2 separate regions of the Homo sapiens genome follow, and region 1 is linked to region 2. Evidence: promoter capture Hi-C in 16 types of primary human blood cells and fetal thymus (Javierre and others, 2016). All regions are on one chromosome and are shown on one strand. The core of a region is centred on a gene start or on the middle of the fragment in contact, and the rest is flanking DNA. Distances in the headings are between cores, read along the strand shown.

The links. Contacts are between HindIII fragments. The CHiCAGO score rates a contact against its expected background, and 5 or more counts as called.
Region 1: a contact is called between the fragment with the promoter of FAM3C here and the fragment with the promoter of WEE2-AS1 in region 2, in 1 of 17 cell types (total CD4 T cells). The highest score is 6.0, in total CD4 T cells.

What each region holds. Positions count from the first base shown.
Region 1 is chr7:121,394,098-121,399,112 of GRCh38, forward strand. FAM3C (FAM3 metabolism regulating signaling molecule C) reads right to left here and starts at 2,211. Exons shown (of 10, transcript NM_014888.3): 1 at 2,065-2,211. It also overlaps the pseudogene CYCSP19. RefSeq lists enhancers at 1,248-1,833, 1,834-2,418 and silencers at 1,646-2,475, 2,516-2,575. The HindIII fragment of the contact is 3,372 bases long and covers 580-3,951 here.
Region 2 is chr7:141,734,150-141,739,291 of GRCh38, forward strand. It overlaps WEE2-AS1 (WEE2 antisense RNA 1), which reads right to left and starts at 3,893. Exons shown (of 4, transcript NR_199841.1): 1 at 3,234-3,893. SSBP1 (single stranded DNA binding protein 1) reads left to right here and starts at 4,209. Exons shown (of 7, transcript NM_003143.3): 1 at 4,209-4,261; 2 at 4,975-5,041. The coding sequence starts at 5,018. RefSeq lists an enhancer at 3,226-4,111. The HindIII fragment of the contact is 7,644 bases long and covers 3,798-5,142 here.

The DNA of each region.
Region 1 (5,015 bases), core at 961-3,460, about 20 Mb before region 2:
GGCTGTCTTATTCATAGTATCCATGATATCTACAATTACTGGTACATGGTAGGCACTCCAGTATTTTTAAGAGTATAAAAATTTTTGAAAAATGAATCGTTCAAAACCTAAAATATATGGTGGAAAATATATGAGTCTTCTGATACCCCCTCAGGGAACATTACTTTTTGCCATTCCATAGCCTCTTAGCCTTTTGGCTGTCTTTTCCAATTTCCTTTTCCTTTTTAATGTATCTTCATAAATTATGAAAGATTAGTTGACAATGCTTAAGGCAGCAATCCACATTAAAAATCTGTAATTGTAATAAAACATCCATTAAGTTTATTTTTAAAGTCACTTTAAGCCAGTAGTGTCTTATTTTTACTCCCTTTTGAAACAGAAGCCCCTTACAATGAGGATTTTGAGGAACCTGTCCTGTGTCCCTCTTACAAAGTTCCCATTGGTAATTCAGAGAGGTCCTCAGGTTGAGAACTGCTGGACTGAACTCCTTTTATTGGCTCCAACTCTTCTTATTTCTTCCTATGAAGAAATGCTAGTCTTTATTGAGTTGAGAAAACATTACAAGAATCTGTGAAACAAAGCTTCTAATACCTGTATAAAACTGAAAACCTTGTGACTTTATTGGTAAACAGCCAAGAAACACAAGAGACTACTAGTAGCCTCTAGAAAGAGGTACAGGTCGATGAAGTGACCAAAACCGGATGCTGATTTGCTGATTCTGCCAATTTCTTGTTAAATGGCTTTCAGTAAGTGATTAACTTTTATTTTCTAAATTCAATAGAGATCTGCTGGTACTCTGTAAGATACTGTATGACTAATAGTAACGGTTCCCAAGACTTAAGAAAACGTAACTGCAAATTGGCCACAAGTCCAAGGGGTCGGGGCCTCTGCTATCAGCATTGACCTTTACTCTCGGGAGTTCATATTTCCATCTGTAAAACTAGAAAAGATAAAGGGACTTATTCACTGAGCTGTTGTGAGAATAAATGAGCACACGAAACCATTTGGCAGTGCCTAGTACACAGTAAGCAATCTAATATTATTTATGTCATTGTATCCATATATATATGGATACATACATATATATGGATACATGGATACATACATATATACGGATACATACATATATATGGATACATACATACATATATATGGATACATACATATATATGGATACATACATATATATGGATACATACATATATATGGATACATACATACATATATATATATGGATACATACACCTGGCTAATTTTTTTATTTTTTAGTAGAGACGAGGTTTCACCATGTTGGCCAAAAAGAAACAAAGGAAAAGTCCTATCAATTAGATAGCAGTTCTATATTACAGGCAATAATATTTTTTCTTAAAAAAAAAAAAGGTAGAGGATGATGGAAACCGCTCCTCCCACAAGTAAAACAGCTGGAGCTCTCAATCTCAAATTGCCAATCCGTCACTCACATATTCAGATCTAGGGCCACTAATCATCATCCGTGGTCCCGAGCTGTGAGAGCAGTAGCAAACAAATAGGAAGAAAAAGAAGAGACACCAAACATCAAAGGGCTGGATAGCTTGTAAAAAACCAAAAGTACCTCTAGTATAGGCGACACTAAAACTTTACAAGTGAGTCAAAACGGCCCCCTATGGAGTTGGAATGCAACACCCAACTCCGTCCCCACCTCTCGGAGCTCTCAGCCTACACGCTGCAGGGGCGCGAGCCACAGCCAACCTGGGGAAGATGCGACCCAGGTGCCCGCCCCAGGCCGGGGCGCCGAGTGCCAGCGCCAGGTGCAGACGCCGCCCCGTCTCCGCGGAGCCCGGGGATGCCCACGCCGGGGCGGCGGCCGGGAACCCCGGCCAGCGGCTCTCCGGGACCCCAGTCCCGCCTGCGCCCTCTCCAACGTCCGGACACGCCGTGACAACGCGGCCGGGCCCGGGGCCCGCCCCCGGCCGGTGACCGCAGTGCGCGGAGGCTGAAGTCGTAGGTGGGCGTCTGGCTTCCCCGGCCTCCTCCATCCCTCCCCGAACCTGAGCCCCGGCTCCGTCCGCCTCCCAGCCGTCTCACCGGCCTCCCGCCCGCCTCTCCGCCGCGCGCGCCCGCCTTCCGGCCTCCCAGCGCTCAGTCCTGCCGGAGGCCGACGGGAGCCGCCGCCTCCAGCTCGCGCCTCCGCTTCCTCTCGGACTCCTCCGGCTGCCCCTCACCCCGGCAAGTGGCCAGGAGAAAGCCAGCTCGCCGCTGGGCCTCCTCCCACGCTTCCCGGCCGCGACCAATGGGCCCCCGCCGCCGGGAAGCCGCGCCCGCCCCCTGGCGGTGGAGGACCAAGCGGGCGCCCGGGCCGGCCAGAGGGAAGGGCCGGAGAGCGGAGGGAGGGGTCTGCGGTCCCGCCCACCGCCCCCGGCCAGGCGCTGCACAATCTGAACTTGCCACGTGGGAGCTGCCGCCGCCGCAGCGGCCCTGCGCCGGGTGGCACTACGGGAGGGAGAAAAATGTGTCACCGCCGTCTCCCCACCGTTTACACGCACAAAATCCCAGCCTCAAGGGCAGAACATTTTAAATGACCCACCCATCCTAGAGATGCGCCAGTTAGGTCATCTTATATATCTTGAGATAGCTGAGATGGTCAGATCAACCAAGGACCTTGGGTTATTTGCCGTTTGACTTCTTGAACCCTAGGAAACTGATTCTGAAAATCCTACTGTCCAGCGTCATTAGAATTCTGATCACCTTTAATGCACCACCCAAGAAGAACAGTAGTCCTTGCATTTTCCAAGTCACGTTTATTTTTTAAATTATAAGATACACAATCGTTAGAAATATTTTTTCTCAGGAGATTTCCTACAATTGTGTTGATAATTGGGAAGTTAATCCAAATCTTACTACATAAGACCTTAGAATGCAAAATTATTTCATAATTCAGATCCATATTCTAAAATAATGAATAACTGTTACCTAGTATTTGACAGAATATTGGGATCATCAGTGGTTGCAGAAATTAAATTGCATTTAAAAATAGGGTTTGACTATAGTGTGTTAATATAGAATTAATAATCTACCAAATTTTAGCTTTCCTCCAAAAATATAAAACACACAAACTAATAGTAACTATGAATTCTGGAGTTTGTGATCCGTGATCAGGGGAGAAAGCATGAAATGAATTCTCATTGTCTTCCATGTGCCAATATTATGCTATTTGTGTATTACTTAAATCAAAAAACTAAGACTCCAAAACTGAGTTTAAATATCTTGCTCAAAAATACAAGATAGTAAGTTATGAAGCTGGAATTCCGGCCTAGCTTCATGTAGCTCCAAATAAACAAAAAGGCACTTTGCTTATTATAGTACCAAAAAATCATAACACTTACTGTACACATGCCTCTCCTAGACTGCTATGTCTCACTGAAAGAGTTTATGAAGCCTCTTGAGTAGGGAGGTCACGGTGTATTTCTGAAAGAGCAATCTGCTCTGTAACCGAGCCAACCAGATTGGAAATTACATGTGACATATTCTTATAGCACCACACCTGAAACAATTCCTGTGCATAAAGTTTAATGTGTTAGTAGCCTATTCTCCACTGACCATAAGATATAGCTTAGAACCCTTTGGTAGGTAATGAAATTAATAACAATGGGTCACAACCAACATTTTGTTGCTGTTGATTCACTGAAAAATAGAAAAAAAAAACAGTTCAAAGCATAAATTCAGGATAAGTATTCTTCATGAAACATTTGTACAGCATCATGTGTGGGTGAGTGTCTGTGTGTCTATGTCCTGGATACAGTAGAAATTATATTTCTTAATATGGGTTTCAATTTTTTTAACATTGGTAAATCACTTCTTTAGGACTCCTGTTAATCAGCCAGTTCTTACACCTATAAACGAGTAAGGATAACTTCCTACTTTTACTTGGCAGGAGGTAGGGGAGCCAGGAGAAGTATTCAGGATTAATGATTAAGCTTAATAAAACCACAGAGCTTTACAGCTCCAGGAGGTATAAGCCAAAGGTGTTGGCTATTACAATAACTACCGATAATTTATATTATATAATAATAGCTACTGATAATGTATATTTCTAAAGCTGATATTTATTGTGTGCTTATTGTGCACCAGGCACTTTTCTAAGCACTTTATATATATAGACTTATTTAATTCTCACAATAATCCTATAAATACAGCGGAGAAAAGTGAAACTTGCTCAAGGTCCTTCTGCTATGACCAGACAGAGCTAAGATTCAAACTCACGTGCTCAACTTCAAAGCCCAACTTTTTTGTTGACTCGAAAAGAATATACAGAGAGTGTGACATCCAGCTTCTGAGTGTCATCCTTCATAGCACAAGCAACAAAAGAGAGGATTAAATATGGATGATGTTGAGAAAGGCAAGAAGATTTGTATTCAGAAGTGTGCCCAGTGCCACACTGTGGAAAAGGCAGGCAAGCACAGGACTGGGCCTAATCTCCATGGTCTCTTCGGATGGAAGACAGGTCAAGCCGTTGGATTATTTTACACAGATGCCATTAAGAACAAAGGCATCACCTGGGGAGAGGATACACTGATGGAGTATTTGGAGAATCCCAAGAAGCACATCTCTGGAACAAAGTGATCTTTGCCAGCATTAAGAAGAAGGCAGAAAGAGCAGACTTGATAGCTTATCTCAAAAAAGCTACTAATGAATAATAATTGGCCACTGCCTTATTTATTACAAAACAGAAATGTCTTATGACTTTTTTATGTGTACCATAATTTAATAGACCTCACACACCAGAATTCAGATCATGAATAACTGACAGAATATTTTGTTGGGCAGTCCTGATGTAAAACTAAGACTGGCTTGCAGTTAAATGAATATGTTCAGTTTTTTTGAATTTTAATAGTAATCCAATTCAGTAAATGCTATCACTGTTTACCCTTTCTAAAGACATGATTTGATTAGACTTTGTTAGTAATGTTCAGCTTTTCACAAAGATGGTGAATGCCATCTTAAAACATATTGGAGATTGGTTTTATATTTGGATTTAT
Region 2 (5,142 bases), core at 2,643-5,142:
CAGTTTACCAACTGGTGAGCAAGACCTTCAGGAGTGCGTTAAAGTGTGTGTGTTGGAAGCTATCTTAAGATTTTATCCCTAAATGGCAAAAATGGGCAGATGAAAGGTTTTAGGTAGAGGCCTGAGGAGGTGATTTGCCTGTTAGAACAATATGGTGGGTACCTTCTTTCTCCACAGTCTGGACAGTGCCAGGACCAGGAGAAGGAGTGGAAGGGGCAGCCCCCGCTGGTGTGGGTTCTGCAATTTATGGGGCTCCATACATCCTTTTTCCCACTAGGCCCAGGGTTAGCGTAAATGAGAAGGAATTTAAGGGGCACCAAGGAACTCAGCAATCAAGATTTGTGATACTTTAATGAAATATTCTTAAAATATTAAAACTAATGAAAAAAATTCATGATGAATAAAATACCAAAATTTTAAATAAAGACAAGATCAGTAAGCTGAAGTTAATTAAAATTATTTAAGGTTGTTACTTGGTCAAGAAAAATTGTGAAGGCATGGCAATTCTCTCAAAACAAGCAAAGCAGATTTGAACACATTACTGATCAGTTTACTTCCATTAAAAGTAAAGTTATATTACATCCATCTTGGCATAAATAAAATATTTAAACTTAAAACAATGTTGTGAATTTTAATACACCTGTAGTGTAACAGGTCCCCCCCACCCGGGTTACTAAAGAGTGTATGTCCACTGCCTGAATCCTGAAGGCCATGTGGCAAGGCCAAGGTGACCAGCCAAAGAGCAGCTGTTTGAGAAGCCAAACATCCCAGAGAATATCTGAGAACCTACCAAAGAAAACAGCTCCATCACACACAGTAGGCTAAAAGCCAGAAAATTAGCTTACAAGTAGCTTAGGGATGGGAGGCCAGGCGGATCTCTACAGCTGTCATGCTGCCATCCAGGAGTGCCTTGTATGTAAGTCCTGATAAACTCCTCTACTCGCCAAGCTGGACTTGTCTGGGTCAATCTTTGGTTTCTCGGCTTCCTCTCAGTTTGGGGGAAGGTTTTTATTAATGCAATTCTGGGTTTTTCTTGTTACAATATCTACTTTAAAAATTTTCAATACTTCTTCAACTACTTTAATGTTCTGGAAATATATGTGTATATATATTGATATATAACACATATACATATATATTGATATATATACACATATATACATACATATATTTTGTGTGATGATATATATATACCGTCTCAAAAATATATATGTGTATATATATTGAGATATATATACACACATATTTCATTCATACATATTGATATATATACACATATATATATACACACATATATATATTTTTTGAGACAGGGTCTCTCACTCTGTTGCACAGGCTGGAGTGCAGTGGTGTGATCATGGCTCACTGAAGCCTCAACTTCCCAGGCTCAAGCGATCCTCCCACTTCAGTAGCTGGGATTATAAGCACATACCACTATGCCTGGCTAATTTTTTTTTTTTTTTTTTGAGACGGAGTCTCGCACTGTTGCCCAGGCTGGAGTGCAGGGGCACGATCTCAGCTCACTGCAAGCTCCGTCTCCCGGGCTCTCGACATTCTCCTGCCTCAGCCTCCCTAGTAGTTGGGACTACAGGCACCCACTACCACGCCCAGCTAATTTTTTGTATTTTTAGGTAGAGACGGGGTTTCACCGTGTTAGCCGGGATGGTCTCGATCTCCTGACCTCGTGATCGGCCCGCCTTGGCCTCCCAAAGTGCTGGGATTATGGGCGTGAGCCACGGCGCCCGGCTGCCTGGCTAATTTTTGTATTTTTTACAGAGACAGGGTTTTGCCATGTTGCTCAAGCTGATCTTGAACTCCTGGGCTCAAGTGATCCACCCCCTCAACCTCCCAAAGTGCTGGGATTACAAACATGAGCTACTGGACCTGGCCAAAATTTTTTTAATTAAACATTTTTTTTTGTTTTTGTCTTTATTTTTAATTTTTGTGGGTTCAAAGGAAGTGTATATATTTATGGAGTACATGAGATATTTTGATACAGGTATGCAACGTCAAATAAGCACATCATGGGGGATGGGGTATCATCTTAATTTATCCTTTGAGTTACACACAATCCAATAACACTCTTATTTTAAAATGTACAGTTAAGTAATTATTGACTATAGTCAACCTATTGTGCCATCGAAAATAGTAGGTCTTATTCGTTCTATTTTTTTGTACCCATTAACCATCCCCACCTTCCCTCCAGCCCCCCACTAACCTTCCTAGCCCCAATTTTTAAAAATACATAAGTACACATATACACAGGGGTGCATATTCTTCCTTGTGCCTCAGGCTCCAGTCTGGCTTGGATCCTGTATTCAGTTAAAATTTTAATACAGTCATGCACTTCATAATGATGTTTTGGAAAAAGACTGCATATACAACAGTGCATATACAAAGGTGGTCCCATAAGATTACAATGGAGTTGAAAAATTCCTATCGTCTAGTGACATCATACCTGCTAAAACATCAGAATGCAATGTATTACTCATGTGTTACTTGATATTAATAATGACTATGTCACTGGTTTATGTATTTACTATACTTTTTATTATATTATTATTTAACTTATTTTTTAAAAGTTAACTGTAAAACAGCCTCAGGCAGGTCCTTCAGGAGGGATTCCAGAAGAAGACACTGTTATAGGAGATGACAGCTCCCTGTGTGTCACTGCTTCTGAAAACCTTCCAGTGGGACAAGATGTGGAAGTGGAAGGCTGAGATTGATCATAATGACCCTGTGTAGGCCTAGGCTAATGTGTGTGTTTATGTCTTAGTTTTTTTAAAAAATGGCTAAAAAGTTAAAAAAAAAAAGAAAAAAAGCAAAGGTAGAAAAAAGCTTGTAGAATAAGGATATAAGAAAAATATTTTTGTACAGTGGTACAGTGTGTGTTTTAAGCTAATTGTTATTACAAAACAGTTAAAACGTAAAAAAATTTGGAAGATTTATAAAGTTATAGTGAGTGAAAGTTTATTAAAGGAAGAAAAGTATTTTTTATAAACTGAGTGTAGCCTAAGTGTACAGTGTTTATGAAGTGTTTAGTGGGTACAATAATGTCCTAGACCTTCATGTTGGGCCACCACTCACTCATTTACTCACCCACAGCAACTTCCAGTTCCGCAAGCTCCATTCATGGTAAGCGCCCCATACAGGTGTGCCATTTTTATCTTTTATACCGCATTTGTACTGTACCTTTTCCATGTTTACATATGTTTAGACACACAGATACTTACCATGAATTACAATGGTCTGCGGTATTCAGTACAGCCCCATGCTGTCAGGTTTGCAGCCTGGAAGCAGCAGGCCACACCACAGAGCCGAGGTGTGTCCAGGCTCCACCATCTAGGTCGTCAAAGTACATTCTGTGGTGTTCGTACAGCAACAAAATCGCCTAATGACGCAATCCTCAGACCTTACCCTGTTGTTAAGGTACACATGACTCTTATTTTGTTCCTCCCGGATTTCCTGCATTAATTTTTACTTTTTAAAATATTACATTAATATATTATTTGATTGCCAGTTTTTCTGGTGCTCCCTTAAATTGCACAGCCTGCCAGCCCTTCCCTGGCTCCCCTTTCTTTTTCTGCTTTTCTTAGTGCTTCAACAGACCTGGGACGTTCTTTTTCTTTCTTTTTTTTTTTAATTTTCTTCTTTTTTTCTTTTTCTTGTTTTGTTTTGTTTTGTTTTGAGATAGAGTTCGCTCTGTTGCCCAGGCTGGAATGCAGTGGTGCGTTCACGGCTCAATGCAGCAACGACCTCCAGGGCTCAGGCGATCCCCCGACCTCAGCCTCCGGAGAAGCTTGGACCACAGGCGCGCGCCACCACGCCCAGCTAATTATATATTTTTTGTAGAGACAGGTCTCACTATGTCGCCTAGGCTGGTCACAAATGTTGCTTTTTTTTCCCTCCAGGCAGAGCTAGTCTCTGTTTTGCCTACCTCGCCCCCTCCTGGGCCCAGTTAGAAACCTCATCACATAATTTCATTTCTTTCCAAACTTGAAACCTTCTAAACTTGAAACCTTCTAAACTTGAAACCTTCCAAACTCACCACTTGGCGGCGTTGATCCATCCGCCCGCGCACAAAGAGAAGATCGCGGAACTTCAGAGTTAAGGGGAGCCGTTTCCCGCAGCGCTAGCCGGCAGTATTTCCAAGGCGCAAGTTGCGGAGTTTCTGTTTCCTTTTTCCTCTGGCGAGCTTTGCGTTCCCTGTGCGCCGGAAGTGATCCCCTGCGTGGCTGGGCTGCTCGGGTTAGATCGTCAGGTGAGGGAGGAAGGGATAGCCAGCGCGAAGGAAGTGCTGGAGTCGTGTGTTTTGGCTGCGCGTGATCCTGCGTGGGTCGGGAGGTGTTTCTGTGTAGGTGTCTGGCCCTTTCATCAGTCGTGCGGAGGACCGCGTGATTTCCTTCCAGTTCTCCTCGGTTTTCAGGTGGTGGCGCCATCTTCGGTAAAGGGTGTCCACCTCTCCCTATGGTGTGGCTGGCTAGCCCGGGGGTCTCTACGCTGCTTGGTCTTTGTTAACGGAGATGAAGGCAGTAATTTTTCAGTAACAGGTTTCAGATATAAGTCCCTTGGTGATGCTAATATTTATGGAGGCCTTACTATGCATTAAGAACTTTTTTAGAAGTTTAGAAAATGGCAGTGAATAAAGCAGATACAAATCTCTGCTCTAAGGGAGCTTGCATAGTAATGAAATTTGAGAAGACAGTGGATTGGAAGTGGGATTAACTCAGAATCAAAATTTTGTCGATGGGTTGGAGGAAGAGGAAGTTATTTGGGACCAAAAAGACATACAGGTGTGAGTTTATTTGGGAGGGAGGAAGGAATCCTCATCAGATGTGCAGGAATGTTGGTACGTTGTGGTCACAAAATTGGAGTGCATAAAAATTATGAATATAGTTAGGAATTTAGGACTGGTGAGTTGTACTTTTGCCATAAGAGGTAATGTTTTTTTCTTATTTTGTTTTTTTCCTTCAGGAAAAGCCTAAAGATTAGACTGTAAGAAAAGAAAATAGAAGCCATGTTTCGAAGACCTGTATTACAGGTAGTCACTTGTCTGTATTAATACTGAGATGTATTACTATCAGCCACAGTGATCAGAAGACTTCTTTAGGCTTTTAACTACAGGGGCAAAAGACCTTTGAG